Linked DNA regions of Homo sapiens: region 2 is linked to region 1. The links are contacts of gene promoters, found by promoter capture Hi-C in human tissues and cell types (Jung and others, 2019). All regions are on one chromosome and are shown on one strand. The core of a region is centred on a gene start or on the middle of the fragment in contact, and the rest is flanking DNA. Distances in the headings are between cores, read along the strand shown.

Region 1 (5,786 bases), core at 957-3,456:
TAAGAAATGTTATTTTTTTTAATCCTAAGAAACATTTTAGAGTGAAAATTGGTCTAATGTCTCAGCCCATTCCAGGTGCTTTAAGCTCAGTGTAGTGTGGCATGTGTGAGGCCACGGGTGTGAGTATAATAACCGCTGTCGCTGGGACAGAGATGCTGTCCAAACTTAAATCATCCATCTTCTTTCCTTTTCTTTCCTTTTCTTTTCTTCTTTTTCTTTTCTTTCTTTTCTTTTCTTTTCTTCTTTTCTTTTTCTTTCTTTTTTCTTTTTTTTTGAGATGGAATTTCACTCTTGTCACCCAAGCTGGAGTGCAATGGCGTGATCTCAGCTCACTGCAACCTCTCCCTCCCAGGTTCAAGCGATTCTCCTGCCTCAGCCTCCCGAGTAGCTGGGATTACAGGCAAGCGCCACCAAGCCTGGCTAATTTTTGTATTTTTAGTAGAGATGGGGTTTCACCATGTTGGCCAGTCTGGTCTCGAACTCCTAACCTCAAGTCCAGGAGTCCCAAAATGCTGGGATTACAGGCATGAGCCACCACACCTAGCCCATCCATCTTATTTTCTTTTTTTTTTTTTTTTTTTTGAGATGGAGTCTCGCTCTGTCACCCAGGCTGGAGTGCAGTGGCACGGTATCGGCTCACTGTGAGCTCCGCCTCCCGGGTTCACGCCATTCTCCCTCCTCAGCCTCCCAAGTAGCTGGGACTACAGGCGCCCGCCACCACGCCCAGCTAATTTTTTGTATTTTTAGTAGAGACGGGGTTTCACCATTCACAGGATGGTCTCGATCTCCTGACCTCGTGATCCACCCGCCTTGGCCTCCCAAAGTGCTGGGATTACAGGCATGAGCCACTGCACCTGGCCCATCCATCTTATTTTCTTTTCTTCTCCTCTTCCTCCTTCTTTAGTGAAATCAACTTATATGAAATGAAAATGCAAACTACCAAACCTGCCTTTTCCCATACAAAACAACAAAATTTGATGATTAAATGAACTAAAGTAGTGAATTTCTTCTTGCTCAATTAATTACAAGGCTTTGACTTAAAACAATTTTTTATATTTTCATAATAAATTTCAGAGGAGAGATTTCTTATGTACTTCTAATGTGACTCTACACATATATTTAGAGAAACCTCAAGTTGTCCATTGCAGTTTTTTTCACTCTCAGTAACTGGCCAGGTTGTGGCCTAAGCCTTCGTTAGCCCTGGTTGATATTTAGTCCCGGCTAAATTTGTTTGCTGCTCATCCCTAGGAGTAAGCCACATGTTTGTAGAATGGATGTTTCATCTTGTAGGAAATACCTGTGAATATGCCAATATCCCAGAGTGGATGAAATGGGCAATGGGGAGCCCTGCTCCACTTTACAAAAAGAAAGGAAAAGAAAAGATCCCTTCGCCGATATATATTGATTTGCTGCAGAAAATGCAATGGGGCATGGGAATGAATAGTCACTCTTGCCCTGTTTCTATCCTGTGCAGGTCCCACCACGTTGAGGTGGGTAGAGATGCTTACACACACACACATACAGGCCTGGAGCCAAAGTCAGGGCCGGCTTTAATGAACTGTACACATATGTTGTGGGCAGCCGCTGATTTAATATGTACAACCATGGTGTGTGCACACACCTGGATAGGCACACTGCTCTGGGAATCACACAGGGTCTCCTGAACAATGATGCTATTGTAATATTTCTTTTTGTTTTATTTGTCCAAAGTCAAACATTCACTCTGTCAGATCACCAGTGTCTTATAAGCCTGGTGTTGGCCCACACTGCTGCAGGATTGGGACAAAGAGACGATGTTACAGTCTGGTTTCTATGGCAACAGAGGAGGGGTAATGAAAACTGAAATGTTGGAAACACCCATTCTAACCATTGTGACATAATTCAGGTTATTACAAGGATGTAACTACCAAAGAAGCAGAAGTGTCATTACCTTGCAGCTCATGTCGACAAAAAGCTACACTGCACATTTCTCTTAGGCTGCTAAGAGGAAGGAAACACAAAACACACACACACACACACACACACACACACACACACACACACACACACACACACAGAGGCCTCGTTTTCTGCATGTAAAATGTGTGTGTTCTTTAAAAGCCAGTGGTTGGCTGGTTTTCCGGACATGATGTGGTTGAAGCTGTCATCGTAATGGAAATTCATTGCTGTAGCTATGGTAAATCGAGTTTTCTGCCTGTGCTGAATGCATTAGTCTAATGAGATGTTTGCAGCTGGAGCGCAGGGCTGCTGGAGACTAACTGTGAGCTACTAACACGGGTGGAAGATAGCTTTTGCAATACTCGGTTTGCATGTGCTGAAAGTCATCTGTCTTCTGAGTCAACACTCCCGACCTGGTAAACAACCTGCTCAGGGCTCTGGTGAACAAGCTGTAGGTAAGGGAGATGCACAATTGGAGGCGTGCCGTTGACACGGGATCTTTCTCTTGTAACTGTCAGCATGACAGGTTACCTGTTTCAGTTTTTTCTGGGTTGCATGCCTACCTCTATGGCAACGCACAAGAGTGTCCTGCACTAAAACCACTGAGTCCAGTAGGTAAACTTTAGTTCCTCATATGCAAAGTACAGCATTTAATTTATTAACCAGATCTCAGAGGGGAAAATGTAACATTGAATTATATAGTTTATAAATTTGGGCTATATACATGTTCATTACTCTTTAACTCTGCATTTAAATACCTAGAAAGTTATTTTTTTCCAAATGTGAACTCAAGTAACCGGTTAGTTATTTTTTCCCTTCACGATAATTTTGCTTTGTTTTGCTTTTTAATTTTAAAAAAATTGTACTATGTCTTGGGATAAAAATATTTACCTAAAATTTGGTTATTAAAATTGGTATGTTATGAACATGTAAAAGTGTTTTTTTTCCCATTTAATTTTATTTCAAATATCCCAGGTAGAATATTTCACATGTCTTTGTGCTGGTTTTTCCTAATTTATGAGGCATAAATAAGAATAATATTTACTGCTAGTTTCTGGTTTTAATTCGTTTTTTGGGAAAAAAACTGGTGACTATGGAGTATTAGCGGCAGTTTTCCCAAGCTCAAAATCACCTCCTTCCCAGGTGGAGCACTGTGACTTGAACCAGCTTCCACGTGCTCCTCCCAAAGCATGAGGGGTCCTCTCCAGGTTGATTGCTGGCTGGACAGGAGCGGTGGATGAGGCCAGGGTGCAGGCTGCTGAGCTGTTTTGCTGAGTTGAGGTGCTTGAGTCAAAGTTCTTTCCACTATCTGTGATCGTGAACGAGAGGTGTCTCCTCGTGTTGTCTCTAGATTCCATGACGGTACTCATGAGGGTTAGACAATCAGTGGCTTTCTGAGAAAGTGGTTTTTTACTGATCTCAGACACTACAGTACTTGAGAAAGTAATCCAGGCACTTCAGAATCAGGGTATTTGTTATATGCTGTTTTTCTTTCTTTTCAACCAGAGGAACCATTTTTGAAGAATGAGGGATATAGCTGCTTTTTTTCTCCACTTTTTTTTTTTTAAAGCAAAATAGAATATCTGGAGTGAAAGCATAAAAATAACTACAAAGGAATTCTTAGTGTGTTAAACTATCTGGGGGGTATAATATTTGTGTGGAGCATTTTTTGTGTTGCTTGGTAGAACTAGTCTGATAAAATGAGGGGCTGTTTGAGCAACAGCAGCTGGGTGAAGATTACCTAGAAAATCGGTACTGCGTGATCGTCTAAACTCAAAAGGTTAATGTAGAATCTTCAGTTTTAGGGAAATTGGTGGCTTCACAAACTATAACTTTTAAACAGGCTTTTTGACAGAATTTTTAAAAAATATGAATGTGTTTTCTTTAGCTCTTTAAATTGTGTACGTAGATGAGCTCTGAAATATTTTGGTAAATTCATCAGTTTGCTTCATTTGTGGAATTATAACAAAAGTGCAAAGCCCACAAAAATCCAGTTCTTTCATGTATAACATGTTTACATTTCTTCCCTGTGTCCCCAAAATTACTTTTATTTTGCTGCAAAAAAAAAAAAAGAAAAGAAAAAAAGAAAAGAGTAAATGAACGGTAATAGAAAGACAAGAAAACAATAAGCGAAACGAGTAAGTTGCTTTTCATCATTTCTTTGCTTTTGGTGGTGTGTTTTCGAGGCGAGGGAAATCAGCAGAAGCAGTTTCACTTTCTGGTTCTTGACTCCTGGGGGTGAGGGTGAAAGGCTGTCTCCTCTAGCAAGCAGCAGGTAAGCTAAGCAGCTCAGCCCACAGAAAACAAGCCAGACCCAAATACTGTCACTTGCTGCAAGAACTTTTATAATGAGAGTTCAAAACAATATTGACTTTAAAAAAATACTCAGTAACACTTTCCTATTAAAAAATTCAAGCACTACCCCAAAGTACAAAGATAGACTTTTTTAATTTTTAAAATTTGAAATGATGAGAAAATCATCTCTGCTGTTTATGTATTTTTAATCTCAATTTTGGATCTCAAATACTTCAATACTTTTAAGGAAACATAACTGAAGTTCCCTGAAATCATAACAAGGAATGCTCGGAGAGGAATAACCTTTCTGGGAGTCTGGGGGCTTAAATGTTAGAGTGCTTCGTAGGTCTGTTTACAATTTTGTGTGGCCTGAGGACACATCACACATGTGTCCACACATCCTTTATGACACGCACCTTAAAGAACTTTTGGTCCAGGCAGAGGTGGTGGCTGGAGCTTGAAAGCCCTCACAGGGGCCCTGTTAGGGATCTGCAGGACAATTTTCCTCCCCAAGTCCCTGCCCTCGGAAACCTCAATATCACATGGGTAGATGCCAGGGAGCCGGGATGTGCCCATCCCACTCCACAAGTCCTGAAGAGCGTGGCAGGTGACACTACCCCTCATTGGGCTGGGAGCCTTAGGATACCAAGCATCTCCAGTGTCATTCTTCCCCTGAGCCCTCAGATTTTATGTGGGGATGGAATGGGAAAGAAGGGAAAGGAGATGAGAAAAGACCCTCTTTTAATCTGATTATCATGGAGCGTAAAATCTTGTCTAACATTTTGTGGATGAAGTTTGTGAAAGCAGTTGCCTTTGGTGTGATCACACAAGCTTCTTTCTTTTGGTGGGCACATCTGATGTTTCTAAGAAGGAACTTTTAAACAATGCCTCCCTAGACATCTTATTTCTTAATTCTGCCATCTCTCAAAAGGCTAGTTTTAGATTTACACATTTTTTAATGTTTTCATTGCCTTCAAAAGCAGACAGGTGAGGAGAGAAGAGGGGGATTAAATCAGCCCCTGGGAGAGACATTAAACGGCTTGGTACAGATATCATATAACAGAAGCCACCAGGGTATCTAGTAAATTACTCTAAATTTTAATTAATGAGTCACAAAAGCCACACCACAAGCTTTAAAAATTACCCTTTTATCAATAAGGTGATAATTAACTTTCTCTGGAATTAGCAGTTCTCTCAGCCCCGGGGCAGTACACAGCCTAGTAAGTTCTCTGGAATGCTGCCAATTTTTAACAATTGGTCTTTTGGCAAACCTACTGGATTTTAATTCAAACATCTATTGTGACATTTTCCAACGTGGTCCACAGACCATTAGGATCACCCAAATCGTGGTAAAATTTCTGAGGTCAAAAGAGCAGCTTGGAATGTTTGAATCGCATTTGAATATGTCACTTTCTCCTTCTTCTTCTTTTTTTTCTTTTCTACCTTTCCCCACCCCAAACTTCTGCATTTGCAAGAGCGCAGTGCTCCAGTCTGCTGTAAATCTCTACTAGAGTCTCTGCTGTAAATCGCTGTGGGGAACCCTGCATTTGTTG
Region 2 (5,786 bases), core at 1,914-4,413, 1.6 Mb before region 1:
GGCTAACTGATGTTTATAATGCCCTCCATCCAGGTAGCAAGATGTGTGTATGTCTTGTCTAAGGTACTGATTTGTATTGAGCATTTCAATATTATTGAATGGTTTTCATTTTAATCTGCAATGTCTCATAAAGACTCGGGTAGTTTTTCTTTGGGGGCATTGATCTCAGTTTTTCTGTAAGGTTTAAATGTTCACAGCCATAGGTTATGGTCTTGCCAACCTCCCCAGTTATGTTTTTTTGTTTTCTAGGACAAAGGGAGTCATTTTGGTTGAACTGGGCAGAATGGTTTGTTCTATTTTCTTATTTTTCTTAGGCAACACAGTTGTTACCACAAGACAAGTCAGGGCTAAATATGACAGATCACAATGTATGGGGAATTTGCCCTTTTAATAATTTCCAGTCCCCTAAGACAAAGTAACCCTCAACGTTTTATCTTTATGCAGTACAGTGGGCTTATTGTGTTAACACTTCAGAAAGATTCAAACTCATAAACTCAGTATTTTAACTCAAAATTCATGTAACAAGATAGCCAAAAGCATAGGATTTCTTAAAATTCTGAATTCGTCTTTTCTGAGAAACATAAATTTACATATTTTTCAACAGAAGGCTATCAAAATTTTAATTAAGTTTAAAATACAAAATTGGATCAAGACATTCACCCTAAATTCTGAATTTTTGTCAGAAAAGAGATTTGATTTTCATGAAGGTAAAGCTTTCTTCACTATTCTGGAACATAAAACTTTATTCAGTGTAATTTAAGTCTTATATATACTCTACTGAATTCTAACTGATCTCCTGAAAATGTTGATCTACGTGTTGTGTCTGATAACTTTCTGGAGATGGAAGCTTATAATTCATTTTTATTGCAGACTAGTTAAATCCCACAAAGTGAATATCTTCTCCTAATCTTTCCTTTTTTAGAGACAGGGTCTCACTGTATCACCCAGGCCAGAGTGTAGTGGCACAATCATTGCTCACTGTAACCTCGAATTCCTGGGCTCAAGCAACCCTCCCACCTTAGCCTCCCTAGTAGCTGGGACTACAGGGATGTACCACCACACCCAGCTAATCTTCATCTAATCTTAAAACTTTGAGCCTCAGAGACTTTGTAGCCAGCATGTGTCTGTAATTGTATGATTTTTAAATCATCATCAAAAGATTAAATTATGTTTGGGTTAGGTTTTCAAGCTAAGCTTATTGAATTCTTTTACCACTTTCATGTAAGCTGGTAGGGGATTTTTGAGAAAAGAAGGTGGGCACTAGTATATCTAAATTAACAATGCTGATGGGGAGTAGGGGGTAATCTACTCTAAAATTAATAGAGCCTTTCCATCAATTGTTTTGTTTTAGACATCCTTGATTTCTCCCTAAATCAAATAAGTTATTTGGAGGTTAGAGTAATAGAGAATTCTTCAGGTTTGAGAGAAGATAAAAACATTTTGGTTGCATATTTGCTAAGCTATATTTTATTATATGTAATTCACAAAACTTCCAAAATGATATATATCTTATATGTATCAACCAAACTAATGTTAAATCAGGCCTGACTAGAGCAAAGATAACAATTTTTTACAAACACTGTTAAGCCCTAAGTATTATTTCAGGTTCTCGTTTAAACTGTTTAATTTTATTCTTAAAACACAAAGTTTTTACCAACTTTTCAAAGCCCACCAATCCACATTTTCTCCAGGAAATTAAATATTTAAGTAAGTGAGTGTTTACTCACTCTGGATAGCTAGGTGATTATTCAGAAAATACGGTTACATAGCTATTTATAAGTCAAGTTTCACTGGCTCTATAACAGTCTACCTCTACACTAAGAGAACTATAACATGAACAACATAGGTCACTTTAAATGTTCTAGTAGCAACTTTTAAAAACATAAAAAGAAGCAGGTGAAAATGTTAATAAAAGTTTATTTAATCCAACATTTGCCAAATATTTCAACATATAAAAATATATTAGTGAGACATTTTACATTCTCTTTTTCATACTAAGCTTTCGAAATCTGGTGTGTATTTTACACTTTCTGCACATCTCCATTTGGATGCTAATGTTCATTGGACATACTTGATCTGTATTTAGATTTCATACAACTTACAGTTGAAAACAGATTCTCATATCAAGTAGCTAAGACAAAAGTTTTTTTCAAGAATTGAAATAAGTATCAGTTTAAAAATTTATATTAAATTTATTAAAATTAAAATCCAGTTCCTTGTTGCATGGGACACAGTGCAAATGCTTGATAAGCACATGTGGCTAGTGGCTGCTATATTGGACAGCATGGGCCACCTGTTTCTAACTTGAGCATCAGTCCTAGCTATGCCTGAATTATTTGACCAGCTGTCAAAGAGAAACAAGGAAATGATAGCTTTGTTAATCTAGCCTCTTTCTTTGTCCCACATATACATTCTACCCCTTTGAATAAAAAAGTTCAATGACGCCGGGCGTGGAGGCTCATGCCTGTAATCCCAGCACTTTGGGAGGCCAAGGTGGGCGGATCACGAGGTCAGGAGTTCGAGGGCAGCCTGACCAACATAGTGAAACCCCATCTCTACTAAAAATACAAAAATTAGCTGGGCGTGGTGGTGTACCCCTGTAATCCCAGCTACTCGGGAGGCTGAGACAGGAGAATCACTTGAACCCAGGAGGCGGAGGCTGCAGTGAGCTGAGATCACGCCATTGCACTCAAGCCTGGCGACAGAGCGAGACTCCGTCTCAAAAAAAAAAGTTAAATGACTTGAGTACCCAAAAGAAATGTCGTGAACATGAAAGTACTTCTCATGTGTCCTTGAGAAATGATGTTGCTAGTGCAGTGTTTCACAATTCATTTTCTACTAAATGTGTACCATTTTTTAAATTGTTTTAACAGAAATATAGAGTGTGTTTCTTAGGAAATAGAATGTTATGCTTTGGGGCTCCTGAAACACCTCGTTTTGAAGGTGAATCTTTGGTTTTCTCCCAGAAGAGGGTCTGCCTTGGGATGATTGGAGCTCTTACCATCAAAATCAGTTATTCAAGTGCTTGCCCAGTGCTTCTTGAAACTCACCTCTACTCTGTATTTTCTACAGTTGGTTCTTGTGTTATAAATGTTGTGAGCAACAGATTAAATGATGCTGAGGAATGAAAAAAGATTCTCATTATAAATGCTTACCTAGGATTCTCATTATAGATGCTTATCTAGGTTTTCATAAATGGGAATGTAACAATATCTTCCAAATATGGAGTCCTTACTATTGTCCAGGAGCCAAGCCAGGTCTGTTAAATCTGTATCATATCTTACTGGGTCTCAAACATCTTCCATGTCATGGCACACAGATTTACAATATAGCACCCTCTGGTTGGAGGACTCCAGTCCCCTCTGTTCATGACTGGTATATTAGTTTGCCATGACTACCATAACAAATACCACAGACTGGGTGACTGAAAAAATAGAAAGTCCAAGATCAACGTGTCAGTGGGGTTGGTTTCTTCTGAGGCCTCCCTTCTAGTTGTCTTCCCCTGCCTGTATCTTCACATGTCCTTCCCTCTGTCTTACTCTCTTTTAAGAACACCAGTTGTATGGGATCAGCCCACATTAATGTCCTCATTTAATCATCTTTTCAAATACAATCCCATTCTGAGATGCTGGGTATTAGGACATCAACATGTGAATTTGGAGTAGGGGGACACAATTTACCTCCTAACAACTGGCATCTGAGTGAGGAGGGGAGCAGTGTCTGGGACACACCTTAACCACTGGAAGCATGTCTCATCTTAATCTTCATGACATTCTGGTGAGGTGAGTAATTATTATGCTTATTGGACAGATGAGAACATGGAGCCCAAAGAGAAAGTCTGTTGCCAAATGTCATACAGTAAGTGGTAGAACCAGAACTAGGGCACAGGCTTTTAAAACTTTAAGCTGGATTTCTTATTCCCAAGGTTAATAGAACCAAAAGAAAAGGACAATTTTCTTATTAAATAAGTAATTTCTTATTTATTATTAAATACATAATTTATTTCCCACTTATTAAGTTCTTATTAAAAATTACATATTTAATAAGAACTTACTAATTAAAGAATGTGACCTGCTTAATGTAATAGAAGTTTTTGACTAAAATTGAGGGTCTATGTCTGGAATTATAGCATACTTTTTTCTTTTTTTAAGTGGAGACAGGGTCTCACTATATTGCCCAGGCTGGCCTCAAACTCCTGGCCTCAAGCAGTCCTCCCACCTTGGCCTCCTAAAGTGCTGGGATTACAAGCATGTGCCACCTGCATACAATTATAACTTTTTTACATAAAACAATAGTAGTGAAAGTTACGGTCTACAGAAATTCAGTAACTACCATATAATCATGTTAGTGTTTCACTACTATTGATTTAAAGCTTAATTGGTAAGAAAATGTGGCACATATACACCATGGAATACTATGCAGCCATAAAAAAGGATGGATGAGTTCATGTCCTTTGCAGGGACATGGATGAAACTGGAAATCATCATTCTCAGCAAACTAACACAGGAACAGAAAACCAAACACCACATGTTCTCACTCATAGATGGGAATTGAACAATGAGAACACTTGGACACAAGGCAGGGAACATCACATACCAGGGCCTGTCATAGGGTGGGGGGCTGGGGGAGGGATAGGATTATGAGAAATACCTAATGTAAATGACAAGTTGATGGGTGCAGCATACCAGCATGGCACATGTATACCTATGTAACCTGCATGTTGTGCACATGTACCCTAGAACTTAAAGTATAATTTAAAAAAAAGCTTAATCGAAATTTGCCAGTTGGATGAAAGTTACTGGTAAGGTGAAAATGTCTTAGTTAACAGGAGCCTCTGTAAGTGAGCCCTTTTTTCAAATTTTTGACTGAGGATATTTTAAGTTTAGGGTAGGTTTGTTTTATTTTTGTTATCCTTAATAAGCATTAAGGTAAAATTTCATTTTCAGTTTCTAAACTTAAGCCTAAACTCTTAAGAATTGAAAGAAAACTCTTTGTTTTGCTTTTGTAAATAGCAGATAAAGAGGAATGACCTGTGAAAAATCTGCTTGCCTTGCCTTTTGTAAATAGCAGCTCTCAAGGAGTGACCTCTAAAAGAAGCTGGAATGTTGTGATAGTTTATCCTGCTCTCAAATCCTTTACACATAATTAAGCAGCAAAAGACTTTAGCTTACTGGAGTGTGTGTGTGTGTGTGTGTGTGTGTGTATTTATATATATATTTCATTCTAACTTGAAACATGGGACATCAACAGCTTTTAAACTAAAGCTCATTCGATTACATTTCTTTTTTTTTTTTTTTTTTTACGTAGGGTCTTGCTCTGTCACAGGCTGAAGTGCAGTGGCATGATCATGGCTCACTACAGCCTCTTAGCCTCCTGAGTACCTGGGACCACAGGCATGCACCACCACCACACTCAGCTAATTTTTAGATTTTTTTTTAGAGACAAGGTCTCACTACGTTACCCAGGCTGGTCTCAAACTCCTGAGCTCAAGTGATCCTCCCACCTCAGCCTCCCAGAGTGCTGGGATTATAGACACAAGCCACTGTACTCAGCCCACATTCTCAGTAATACAAAATGTAGGAATTTAAACACATTTTGGTAACAGCAAGGGATCTTAGCTTTTTTATGAGTCTGAAAAGTGGTACTATATTCAGTGTGAAGTGTGAAAAAAGGAAAAAATTTGAGCAGGGGTCAGGATAGAGAACTTTTATTCTGAATTCATAATATCCATAATATGTCACTTTAAATATAATTCAAAGATGATTTTCCAAAAGAATAGTTTGGGT

What was found. The method cuts DNA at HindIII sites, captures the fragments that hold promoters and counts their contacts. A contact is called where the count stands out against the background at its distance.
Region 2: a contact is called between a fragment that was not itself captured here and the fragment with the promoter of SCML4 in region 1, in 1 of the 25 tissues and cell types used here (hippocampus).

What each region holds. Positions count from the first base shown.
Region 1 is chr6:107,820,733-107,826,518 of GRCh38, reverse strand. It overlaps SCML4 (Scm polycomb group protein like 4), which reads left to right and starts at 2,206. Exons shown (of 8, transcript NM_198081.5): 1 at 2,206-2,393. RefSeq lists an enhancer at 4,054-4,123. The HindIII fragment of the contact is 11,941 bases long and covers 1-5,786 here.
Region 2 is chr6:109,459,941-109,465,726 of GRCh38, reverse strand. ZBTB24 (zinc finger and BTB domain containing 24) reads left to right here. Exons shown (of 7, transcript NM_014797.3): 7 at 1-3,133. It also overlaps a transcript of MICAL1 not described here. Among named protein-coding and RNA genes, the nearest start is that of MICAL1, 7.1 kb to the right of the region's middle. The HindIII fragment of the contact is 4,283 bases long and covers 1,022-5,304 here.